4 separate regions of the Homo sapiens genome follow, and regions 1, 2 and 4 are each linked to region 3. Evidence: promoter capture Hi-C in 16 types of primary human blood cells and fetal thymus (Javierre and others, 2016). All regions are on one chromosome and are shown on one strand. Each heading gives the region's core, a stretch centred on a gene start or on the middle of the fragment in contact. The rest is flanking DNA. Distances are from core to core; before and after follow the strand shown.

What was found. The method cuts DNA at HindIII sites, captures the fragments that hold promoters and counts their contacts. A CHiCAGO score of 5 or more calls a contact.
Region 1: a fragment that was not itself captured here is called in contact with the fragment with the promoter of BMP6 in region 3 in 7 of 17 cell types (endothelial precursors, M1 macrophages, erythroblasts and 4 more); the score reaches 17.2 in endothelial precursors.
Region 2: a contact is called between a fragment that was not itself captured here and the fragment with the promoter of BMP6 in region 3, in 4 of 17 cell types (endothelial precursors, M1 macrophages, M2 macrophages and 1 more). The highest score is 11.6, in endothelial precursors.
Region 4: a contact is called between a fragment that was not itself captured here and the fragment with the promoter of BMP6 in region 3, in 13 of 17 cell types (naive B cells, naive CD4 T cells, naive CD8 T cells and 10 more). The highest score is 16.8, in naive B cells.

What each region holds. Positions count from the first base shown.
Region 1 is chr6:8,043,510-8,046,537 of GRCh38, reverse strand. The region is part of intron 2 of BLOC1S5 (biogenesis of lysosomal organelles complex 1 subunit 5); the gene reads left to right. All of the region lies in intron 2 of BLOC1S5-TXNDC5 (BLOC1S5-TXNDC5 readthrough (NMD candidate)), which reads left to right. The region is part of intron 4 of EEF1E1-BLOC1S5 (EEF1E1-BLOC1S5 readthrough (NMD candidate)); the gene reads left to right. Among named protein-coding and RNA genes, the nearest start is that of BLOC1S5, 19 kb to the left of the region's middle. The HindIII fragment of the contact is 3,648 bases long and covers 1-3,028 here.
Region 2 is chr6:8,085,412-8,088,193 of GRCh38, reverse strand. All of the region lies in intron 3 of EEF1E1 (eukaryotic translation elongation factor 1 epsilon 1), which reads left to right. The region is part of intron 3 of EEF1E1-BLOC1S5 (EEF1E1-BLOC1S5 readthrough (NMD candidate)); the gene reads left to right. It also overlaps SCARNA27. Among named protein-coding and RNA genes, the nearest start is that of EEF1E1, 16 kb to the left of the region's middle. The HindIII fragment of the contact is 2,218 bases long and covers 251-2,468 here.
Region 3 is chr6:7,724,636-7,727,601 of GRCh38, reverse strand. BMP6 (bone morphogenetic protein 6) reads right to left here and starts at 1,503. Exons shown (of 7, transcript NM_001718.6): 1 at 1-1,503. The coding sequence starts at 646. The HindIII fragment of the contact is 3,909 bases long and covers 1-1,778 here.
Region 4 is chr6:8,217,307-8,220,077 of GRCh38, reverse strand. The region is part of intron 2 of LOC105374910 (a long non-coding RNA gene); the gene reads right to left. Among named protein-coding and RNA genes, the nearest start is that of EEF1E1-BLOC1S5, 120 kb to the right of the region's middle. The HindIII fragment of the contact is 1,155 bases long and covers 745-1,899 here.

The DNA.
Region 1 (3,028 bases), core at 481-2,980, 320 kb before region 3:
GGCCTTATAAGAATGGCTCAAAAAAAATAAAAAACCTCAGTAACATATCTAGTCTATTATTTTTTCATAGTCAAGTTTACCACTCTTTTTTTTAGTAACTTCTTATTTTAATTTTAGATTTGTAGAAAAATTGCAAAGATAGTACAGATAATTCCCATGTACCCCTGTGTTAGTCCATTTTCATGCTGCTTATAAAGGCATACCCAAGATTGGGAAGAAAAAGAGGTGTAATTGGACTTAAACAGTTCCACATGGCTGGGGAGGACTCAGAATCATGGTGGCTGGCGAAAGGCACTTCTTACATGGTGGCAGCAAGTGAAAATGAGAAAGAAGCAAAAGCAGAAACCCCTGATAAGCCCATCAGATCTCATGAGACTTATTCACTGTCATGAGAATAGTATGGGAAAGACTGGCCCCATGATTCAATTACCTCCCCCTGGGTTCTTCCCACAACACGTGGGAGTTCTGGGAGATACAATTCAAGTTGAGATTTGGGTGGGGACAGAGCCAAACCATATAATTCCACCTTTGGCCCCTCCAAATCTCACGTCCTCACATTTCAAAACCAATCATGCCTTCCCAGCAGTCCCCCAAAGTCTTAACTCATTTCAGCATTAATCCCAAAAGTCCACAGTCCAAAGTCTCCTCTGAGACAAGGCAAGTCCCTTTCACCTGTAAGCCTGCAAAATCAAAAGCGAGATAGTTACTTCCTAGATACAATGGGGTTACAGGTATTGGGTAAATACAGCCGTTCCAAATGAGAGAAATGTGCCAAAACAAAGGGATTACAGTGCCCATGCAAGTCCGAAATCCAGTGGGGCAATCAAATTTTAAAACTCCAAAATGATCCCCTTTGACTCCAGGTCTCACATTCAGGCCACACTGATGCGAGAGGTGGATTCCTATGGTCTTGGGAGGCTCCAGCCCTGTTGCTTTGCAGGGTACAGCCTCCCTCCTAGCTTCTTTCATAGGCTGGCATTGAGTGTCTGTGGCTTTTCCAGGTGCATGGTGCAAGCTGTCGGTGGATCTACCATTCTGGGGTCTGGAGGACGGTGGTCCTCTTCCCACAACTCCGCTAGGCAGTGCCCCAGTAGGGACTCTGTGTGGGGGCTCCGACCCCACATTTCCCTTCTGCACTGCCCTAGCAGAGGTTCTCCATGAGGGCCCCACTCCTGCAGCAAACTTTTGCCTGGACACCCAGGCATTTCCTTACATCTTCTGAAATCTAGGCAGAGGTTCCCAAACCTCCATTCTTGACTTCTGTGCACCACAGGCTCAACATTACTTGGAAGCTGCCAAAGCCTGGGGCTTCCACCCTCTGAATTCACAGCCCAAGCTGTATGTCGGCCCCTTTCAGCCACTGCTGGAGTGGCTGGGACATGGGGCACCAAGTCCCTAGGCTGCACACAGCATGGAGGCCATGGACCTAGCCCACAAACCACTTTTTACCCCTAGGCCTCTGGGCCTGTGATGGGAGGGACAGCCATGAAGACCTCTGACATGCTCTGGAGACATTTTCCCCATTGTCTTGGGGATTGACATTTGGCTCCTTGTTACTTATGCAAATTTCTGCAGCCGGCTTGGATTTCTCCTCAGAAAATGAAATTTTCTTTTCTTTTGCATTGTCAGGCTACAGATTTTCCAAACTTTTATGCTCCGCTTACCTTATAAAACTGAATGCCTTTCACAGCACCCAAGTCACCTCTTGAATGCTTTGCTCCTTAGAAATTTCTTCCACCAGATACTCTCAATGATCTCTCTCAAGTTCAAAGTTCCACAGATCTCTAGCGCAAGGAAAAAATGCCACCAGTCTCTTTGCTAAAGCATAACAAGAGTCACCTTTGCTCCAGTTCCCAACAAGTTCCTCATGTCCATCTGAGACCACCTCAGCCTGGACCTTATTGTTCATATCACCATCAGCATTTTTGTCAAAGCCATTCAGCAAGTCTCTAGGAAGTCCCAAACTTTCTTACATTTTCCTGTCTTCTTCTGAGCCCTCCAAACTGTTCCAACCTTTGCCTGTTACTCATTTCCAAAGTTGCTTCCACATTTTCTTCTATCTTTTCAGCCACGCCCCACTCTACTGGTACCAATTTACTGTATTAGTCTGTTTTCACTCTACTGATAAAGACATACCCAAGACTGGAAAGAAAAAGAGGTTTAATTGGACTTACAGTTCCACATGGGTGGGGAGGCCTCAGAATCATGGTGGGAGGCGAAAGACACTTCCTTCTTTTTTTTTTTTTTTTTTTTTGAGACAGAGTCTTGCTCTGTCGCCCAGGCTGGAGAGCAGTGGCACAATCTTGGCTCACTGTAACCCCCACCTCCCAGGTTCAAGCGATTCTCCTGCCTCAGCCTCCTGAGTAGCTAGGATTACAGGCATGCACCACCACGCCTGGCTAATTTTTTTGTATCTTTAGTAGAGATGGGGTTTCACCGTGTTGGCCAGGCTTGTCTCAAACTCCTAACCTCATGATCCGCCCACCTCAGCTTCCCAAAGTGCTGGGATTACAGGCGTGAGCCATCGCGCCTGGCCTGAAAGGCACTTCTTAACATGGTGGTAGCAAGAGAAAATGAGGAAGAAGCAAAAGTGGAAACCCCTGATAAGCCCATCAGAGACTTATTCACTATCAGGAGAATAGTATGGGAAAGACGGGCCCCCATGATTCAATTACCTCCCCCTAGGTCCCTCCCACAACATGTGGGAATTCTGGGAGATACAATTCAAGTTGAGACTTGGGTGGGGACACAGCCAAACCATATCAACACCTCACCCAATTTCTTTCATTATTTTATTTCTTACATTACCATGCTGCATTTGTAAAAGCTAAGAAACCAACATTGATACATTACTGTCAATGAAACACCAGACTTTATTTGAATTTTACCAGTTTTTCTATTACAGTCCCCTTTCTGTTCCAGAATCTCATCTGGGGTACCACATTGCATTGAATGATCATGCCACCTTAGTCTTTGGTCTGTGACAGTTCCTCCGCCTTTCCTTATTTTTTATGACCTTTGCATAAGT
Region 2 (2,782 bases), core at 110-2,609, 360 kb before region 3:
ACATGATACTCACTATGTTCTTGGCACTGTTCTTCATGCTGTACAAATGTTGACTCATTTAATCCTAATAACAGCCATATAGGGTAGGCACTAATAATAGCCCCATTTTACAGATGAGATAACTGAGGCGTAGAGAGGTCAAGTGTTTTCTTTGAGATTGCCCAAGTAAGTGGTGGAACGAGGTCCAGAAACCAGACACTTTGGCCCCAGAATATGTGCTTTGTTATGACCATCTCTCTGCCTACAAGCTTGGCTCAACTCCCCATCACCCCAACACCCATCTTCCCCCTGTGGAAAAAAAAGAACTCATGTGTTTTTGTGCATTGTGCACCTCATGCATCCAGTCAATCAGATCCTGATTTCCAGCTCCTAAATGCCTCTCACATGTGTCTTTTCCTGTGATCCAATGACATTGCCCAAGTTCCAGTATTTAGAATCTTTTGTTCATCTAAAGAGGATGGACTGTAAGAGATGAGCTTGGTGGCCCCTGGAGCAGTCTTTCTCATGACCGTGTCTTTTTCTTTCTCAAAATAATCAACTCAGACAGGCACAGTAGCTCACCCCTGTAATCCCAGCACTTTGGGAGGCCAAGGCGGGCAGATCACTTGAGGTCAGGAGTTTGAGACCAGCCTGGCCAACATGGCGAAACCCCATCTCTACTAAAAATACAAAACTTAGCTGGGCGCGGTGGCTCACGCCTGTAATCCCAGCACTTTGGGAGGCCAAGGCAGGTGGATCACCTGAGGTCAGGAGTTCGAGACCAGCCTGGCCAACATGGTGAAACCCCATCTCTAGTAAAACTACAAAAATCAGCCAGGCGTGGTGGCGCATGCCTGAAATCCCAGCTACTCCAGAGGCTGAGGCAGGAGAATTGCTTGAACCCAGGAGGAAGAGGTTGCCCTGAGCAGAGATCGCACCAAGGCACTCCAGCTTGGGCGACAAGAGTGAAACCCTGTCTTAATTCATCTGACTCCTGCCTCCCTTGCTATCCTCCTTCCCGTCATTCTCTCAGCCACAACATGTGCCCCAGAGCCTGCTGTATGCTGGGCTGTTTCTACCCAGCATCCTTGCATTACTCTTCTCTTTTGTTCCCTGGTCCCAGCCCTTCCCTTCCTCTCCACTTCATTTGCATTTCCCAAGTATCTCTCGGTTCCCACTCATTCCTCGGCTGCATCTCTCTCAGGCGCCTAAACCACATTGAGGTGCTCCTTCCTCTGTGTGTGTTTGTACCTCATGTACACTTCGGGTCTAGCTCATTTCACTCTTACTGTAATTCTTTGAAAATCTCTCTAAATTATAAGCTGTTTGACTCAATGATTGTAGCGACACATATTTGTAACACCATTGTCTGAGGTAATTCCTGGCATGTGTAGGTGGTCACCCCTCCATAAACACTGAATAAATTTTTAAACGTATTTCTCTATGCTTTTCAAGGAGTTTCCTCTATACTTTCTCACTGTACCTCATCACTAAGAAGGAAATAGGACCAGTGTTATTGGCCTTCTTTTACAGAGAAAGAAACTAATGCTTAGGAAACTTGAGTGGTTTAAAGGCACGGCGCTCAGTTTTTGGAAGGGCCAAACTTTCAGATCTTCTGACTGAAGTGTCTTAATGTGTGGGGAAGCTCTTTGTCTTATAAACTGTAAAATACCGTAATAATTGAGGTCTGCGCAGGCCCCAACCTATCCATGGTTTGGGGCTGCTATCTGCCTCATAAAGCAAAGTGGAGGGTTTGTCTTTTGGAAAAACAAAGTCGTTTTCTCCTCTGAAAAAGCCTCCTACATAGTTGGTTTTGCCATTTGCCAAGAATAAGAGGGCACAGATTGAGGCCTCTTGAGTATGGGTTTTCAGTTGAGGTTGAAGAGAGAAGACAGGGATTGTAACCAGAAAATTCAGAATGGAATGCAGTTCCCTCCAGAACTCCTGGGCTTCATGACAGTCATAGAAGTGGATTCCTTTTAGTTTCCCCTCACCCCGCAAACGTACCGTAATAATGCAGGATACAGTTATTAGTTCCCTACTCAAGCTATAATCCCTCAGTTTGAATTTACTTGACTTTATTCTGAATTGTTCCTCAAAGATCCCTCAGTGATTATGTTAAATTCTGTAACATTATTGTAATGGCTTAGAATGATCCTTAATTTAATGTAAAACTATTATGAGTTTTAAATGATTTATTGAGAGCCCACTGTGTATGCCCACTATGCCATACTTGAGAGGGAGACAACAGAAGTATAAAACTATTTTCAGGGGCATATTAATCTTATTGAAGAAATTAGACTGTTTTACATGAAAGCAATTAATGAAGTAGAGAAAATGGAATCCAGTGCTAATCTCTGGTCAGAATATTATGTTATTAATGCATGAGGCAGATAAGTAGAATACAGAATCAGAAAATTGTCAGAAAAATATCTGAAGATTTGGATGGCCTTGGCTGTCTAAGGGAATTTTCATTGTTTTGGAAAGCTTATGATAAGTTTGATTACAAATATTCTTTGTAAATAGGGCGACCACATGATTTCTCATCCAAAACACTTGGCTGTGAAAGGAGGCCTATTAATAATTACATTGGGACAACAGGAGTGAAGTAGAATGAATATTCCCCATACTTACAAAGAATATGATTCAATTTACACAAAATAAGAGACCAAAGAGGATTTGTCTTATTTCTGTTCATCCCCTCTTGGCTTTTAAAACAGTGCCTTGTGCAGCTAAATGCTTATTGAGATTAGCAATATTAAGGCTGGGCATGATGGCTCATGCCTGTAATCCCAGCACTTTG
Region 3 (2,966 bases), core at 254-2,753:
TGACCATGTCCGCGTCGTTGAGGAAGGCGCTGTCCTGCGCGCTGGTCAGTGGGGACGCGCCGCCGCTGCCAGATCCGGGGGCCAGAAGGCTCTTGCGGTTGAGCGGGTGCGCGGCGCCCGGGGGCGGCTGCCGACGCTGGGACGAGCTGGCTGCTTCGTGGGGCCAGGACTGCTGCCTCTCCCCCTCCGACGCCCCGTCCTCGTCGTTGTCGGCGGACAGGGCGTTGTACAGATCCAGCATGAAGAGGGGCGCGGACTTCAGTCGCCCGGGAGGGGGCTCTCCGCGAGGCAGCTGCTGCTGCTGCTGCTGCTCCTCCTGCTGCCGGAGCGCCGGGGGCTGCGGCTGTTGGAGGCCGTGCAGGGGCCGGGGCCGGTGCGGGAGCCCCAGCACCGACAAGATCTCCTTCTGCATCTCCCGCTTCTCCTGCGTCTTGAGCCGCCGGTACAGGAAGCCCGAGGAGGACTGCGGCGACGGCGGCGGCTGCTCCGTGCGGCCGGGGCTCCCGCCGTCCCCCAGCAGCTGCCCCCCGGCGGCGGCGGCCGCGGCAGCGGGCAAGGGCGGCCGCAGCGGCGGGGGCCCGCAGCAGCTGCACAGCAGCCCCCACCACCAGCACAGCCACTGCGCCCTCCGCCCCAGCCCCGGCATCCCCGCCCGGCCGGGCTGCCCCCGCGGATCCCGCGAGGCGTGGAGCGGCGGAGCGAGGCCGGAGCGCGGCCGCTGTGGCCCTTGGCGTGAGCAGTCCCCGCCACCTCTCGGCGGGCTCGCTTCCCCTTCCTGGCCCTCAGTCCTTATCTCTCATGGTCGTCCGGGGCGCCCCCAGTTGCCCAGGCTAGAGAGGTGGCGAAGGGGCGATCACCAGGAGAACCGCTTGGAGGGGAGGAAGGGGAGCCTCACAGCCTCGCGCAGGTCTCTAGAGGCGCGCGGTCCAGGCCAGGTGCGTCTGAGTCCGGGCTGCACTGCAGCCTGCGCCCTGGCTCCTGCGAGTCGCGGCGCGGTCACTCTGGGCCTCGCTGGCCGCACACGTGCGCTGCCCCGCGCTCTCCCTGGCGACTGAGTGGGACCCGGGGCAGCGGGGAGCGGGGCCGCTCACGAGCTGCGGGAGATGCCCGGCATCACCGTGGCGCACGCCCCTCCCCAGATCGCAGGGCCACCATGAAGTTTACCCCGTTGCAGGGCCCAGGCTGCGGCGACAAGGCGTCCCGAAATGCCAGTCTATTCCGCGAGGTTTAACTTCCTTCTCGCTCACGAACTCCGCGCCCCTGAGCTCTCGGGCACCGTCGCTCCCACTCAAAATCTCCGCGCGCCGCACGCCTCCTCAAGCGGAGGCGGCGAGGATCTTGCTTTCCGTTCGGCGGTCGCCCGGCTGCCCAGCAAACCCGCTCGCAGAAAGGATGGGAAGGAAGGGGGCTAGTGCACCGAGCAGCGGCCGCGGCGGCGGCGCCGGAATTCGGTCTCCCGCCTCTCCACGCCGCGCTCCCCGCAGCGGCCAACGTGGGCTTTCTGCTGCGCGCCCGGCTCAGGTACCTCACTCCAGCCCCGGGACTCCCCGCCCCGCGGTAACCGACAGGCTGGCAGCCAATGGGGACGCGAAGCTCGCGGGCTATTTAAATAGCCCCGCCCCTTCTTTCACCCTCCCTCTCCCGAGAGGCGTCGCCTCCGCCGCGCGTAGGTTTCAAGACCCGGGAATTCTTGGAGGCATGCGAAGAGCCGCGAGGTGCCAAAGGCGAAGAGGTCATCGCTAGTAAGAATGATCTGACCAATACCCCGATCTGAAGCTTTCTCTTTTACCATCATTTAAAAGGCCTAAGTTGATGCTTTAACTAAATAAAAATAATAACAGCGATTAAATCACTATACTGCCAGAACTGAGGAAGAAAAGAAAAATGATAGCTTTTCCATCCCTTCCTTAGTTTCTCTTATTGATGTAATGTAGGCGTTTAGCGGACACGTGGCTTTCCACGGCAGCTGCTGGAAGTTGGGACACACCCTCCGGGGAGGCTACTCACAAACTGACCACAGAGAGGGCCACATGTAACCCAAGCCAGCGTCCTGAGGGTTTGGGGTCGGATGTGTTGACTTCTCTGTTCATTTGTGCTTTGGTTTGGCTTCTTAAGCTAGCACCCAAAAGAAAGAGGGTGTAATCAGACGATATATTAGAAAAGGCGTCCCCTGTCTTCTTGGAAATGTCTTGATTCTCCAGCTTATCTATTAATGTTGCATTTTAATATTGAAATACAATGTGACTTATATGGTGCAAGATAAAACTTGAGGAGAGGTGATAAAGATAACTCCAGGAAGAGCAGGGGCTTGGCATGCATTCTGAATGGTCAGGACAATAGACAGGGTCCTGAAACACAGGTTCCTGTGGATTTTAGACAAGATAACACCACCACCAACACCATTTGCCAATGAGGACACAAATTCATTTGCCTTTACCCCGCCCGAGAACATCCAGTCATCTATGGATCGTAGAAGCAAATTCACGTAAAACATGAAGGTTTTTTACTTGGTGAAAATTGTGTGGAGTTGAAAATAAAAACTGCAATTTTCTGACTTGCCAGCCTTAGTCCAAATGGTCCTAGGCATTTGAGAGTGAAGTCAAATAGATTATAGACTGTGGGATTCATGAATTTATGAGATCATAGGCTTTCTGTTGGTCCAAATCTTATAAGCATTCCTATCCTATTTCCAAGAATCTATTTCTCATGGGTAAATAGAGACCACCACTGACTCCAACTACCCACTGAGTCCTTCTTTCTAGTTCTGCCTTGGCCCAGACACAAGTGGTCATTTAGAAGAGTCTTTATTTCTACAAATATCTGATAGCTATGAATTTCAGGGCACAAAACTTATGTGAATGCCAGTCTTTAACCATCTCTACAGGGATTTCTTCCATCCGAAAAGATAATACGATACTTTGTCTGGGATGCCCGGACCCTCAGAATTCAAGAGCCCTGTCACTTCT
Region 4 (2,771 bases), core at 73-2,572, 490 kb before region 3:
CTCCTGGGCTCAAGCAATCCTCCCACCTCAGCCTCCAGAGTAGCTGGGACCACAGCCATGCACCATCATGCTCAGCTAATTTTTGTATTTTTTGCAGACATGGGGTGTCACTATATTGCCCAGGCTGGTCTCAAACTCCAGGGCTCAAATGGTCTGCCCTCCTTAGCCTCCCAAAGTGCTGGGATTACAGGTGTGCACCACCATGCCCACCCTGGGATGGCATTATTTTTATTTCTAGTCCTTAGTTGTATCTGAATGTAATTAAATATCATAGGTATAACACAAATGGCAAATGTCTGTGGATAGACAAGCTGTGAGAAGCATATTAGAGGTGATTGTTTTAATTTTAACGTATTTCCAATCTCCAAACAGAATAATGGTACCTGATGAGTATTCTTTAGAATAAGAAAAATAAATATCTCCAAGGAGGAAAGAATTGGTAGCTGAGGAAATAATGGTTATGTTTTAAATTCGGTTAATACAGGGTTGGGGAAACTCTACTATGTCAATCCATGTTGAACCACCAGGTGGCACACTACTGCCTTCTTTCCACCATTCAACCACAGAAAAAGAAAATGCCGTTGGGAGATGTTGGGTTTAGTTTATTGGTTGCTTTTTACACAGAAAATTCACCAAAACCAACTTAGCCACATGAAGATATGAAGCTACAAGTGGTTCTTTCTCAGCTTTAATATTTTTATTACTATCAGTAGAATTTATATTGCTTTGCTTTTTCTTTAAGCTTTGAGCCATCAAGACGTAAACACACCAACAGAAATGCTAATAAAAACAAGCTCATTGATTACTCTTTACATGAAAGCAGAAACAACTGGGGAAATAATTTTACTTTTCAGAATACTTAAGGATTACCGGCATTTAATACTCTACACGAGCATTTCATATTTGCAAAGTGTATTGTTATATATTTATAAGTAATTACTCACAATAATGAATGTGGTGGCATTTTTTAAAACCCATATGCAATCTAGGTCAAATTCTGAACATTGCACAGATTTCTCTAGCTTTTTGCAACATTTATTCAATGACTTCATTGGCAAACTAACCAGAATCAACCCAATTTTTAAAATACTTTTAACGGAATTCTATGTTTATACTGATTTAGATTCAGCAATTGTCATAATGCCTTACAAATAGTCTTTCCGCCTAAAAGTAAATACGTCTTTAACTCCAGTTTACTGAAAAAAGTACCCTTTTTGCTTACTGAAGTATATCAAACACATTTTGGATTTACCTCAGTTGACTAAGTCCTGGCAATCGGTAAATTAACTAGCACTTTAAACAGAACTTTTAATGTCCATTGATGAAATGGGCTGCACAAATGAGAAATTAGCTTCTTTCAGTTCTAAAATCACAAGGCAGAATGAGGTGAATTCTAGTCCCAGTTTTGCCACCAGCTAGCTGTGTTGCCTCAGGCACATTATTTAAACTCTTTATACCTTCTTTCTCTCAAGTGAAAAATTAAATAAAGTGGAATCTTTCTAAGGTTCTATTTTACTTTTAAAACTGTATGATTTTATTTTTATATTTGAATCTTATATTGTGAAGCATAGTAAAGTATTTCAAAGTAATTCATCAAAGTAGGAAAAGCTAGGAAAAATTCCTAAAGCAATGACCCCCTCGAGTGATGGCAGCAGTGTGCAGACAGCTTGGAGTCTTCTGCATCTCCTCTGATGAGTAAAACCAAGAGCTCTCACCACACAAAGGAAGAGCTCTACACACACCTTTTGCTTTACAATTTCTTCACTTACTCTGGCTAATTGATATCTAGCCACCTCAGAATGAATTCATTAAGCTCTTTCTCTAGCTGTCTTGCACAGAATTTTCAGTAGTATAGATCTGTTTAACAGATTCCAACTGCTGGAACCCACAATGCAAGCTTCCAGAATGATTGATAGCCATAACTTGAGAAATGTATGTTGTGTTCGGTGAAACTCCGTCTCTACTAAAAATACAAAAAATTAGTCGGATGTGGTGGCGGGCGCCTATAGTCCCAGCTACTCGGGAGGCTGAGGCAGGAGAATGGCATGAACCTGGGAGGCGGAGCTTGCAGTGAGCGGAGATCCTGCCACTGCACTCCAGCCCAGGCAACAACGAGACTCTGTCTCAAAAAAAAAGAGAAATGTATGTTGTGTTCATGTAAGATGGTCCTATAGGCACTACATCCCTTTTCTCATAATGCGAATGAAAACGAGTTATTTTCTTATGTTCGAGTTGCATTATATCTCATATATTGAGTTTACAAAAGCAAAAATTCCTGAATCCCTCAAAATTGAGAATGACTATACTTACACTAGCCAGATACAAAATCTCTACTAAGTAAACAGACCCACATGTTTTATTTGCAGACTTATGTTTTTATATCTTCTGTTGGGGAATATGTTTCTTCTTTAAACAAACAAGGGCTTCTTTCCCCATTGATTGTGTACTTCTGATGATGTTTTAAAAAAGACTTTCACAAGGGAGGGATGGGTCCTTAATCAAGACTTTAAAATGAGGGCAATAAATATATTTTATTGGTTATAATACCTTTTTCTTTATTAGAAGGATAACAGACTGCTGGTTAACTGGTCATGAAATATTAATTAAAAAGAAAAAATATATGATAGAAGTATCTCAGTGAGTGCTAACTCATGCTTTTTTTTTTATTATTATACTTTAAGTTTTAGGGTACATGTGCACATTGTGCAGGTTAGTTACATATGTATACATGTGCCATGCTGGTGCGCTGCACCCACTAACTCGTCATCTAG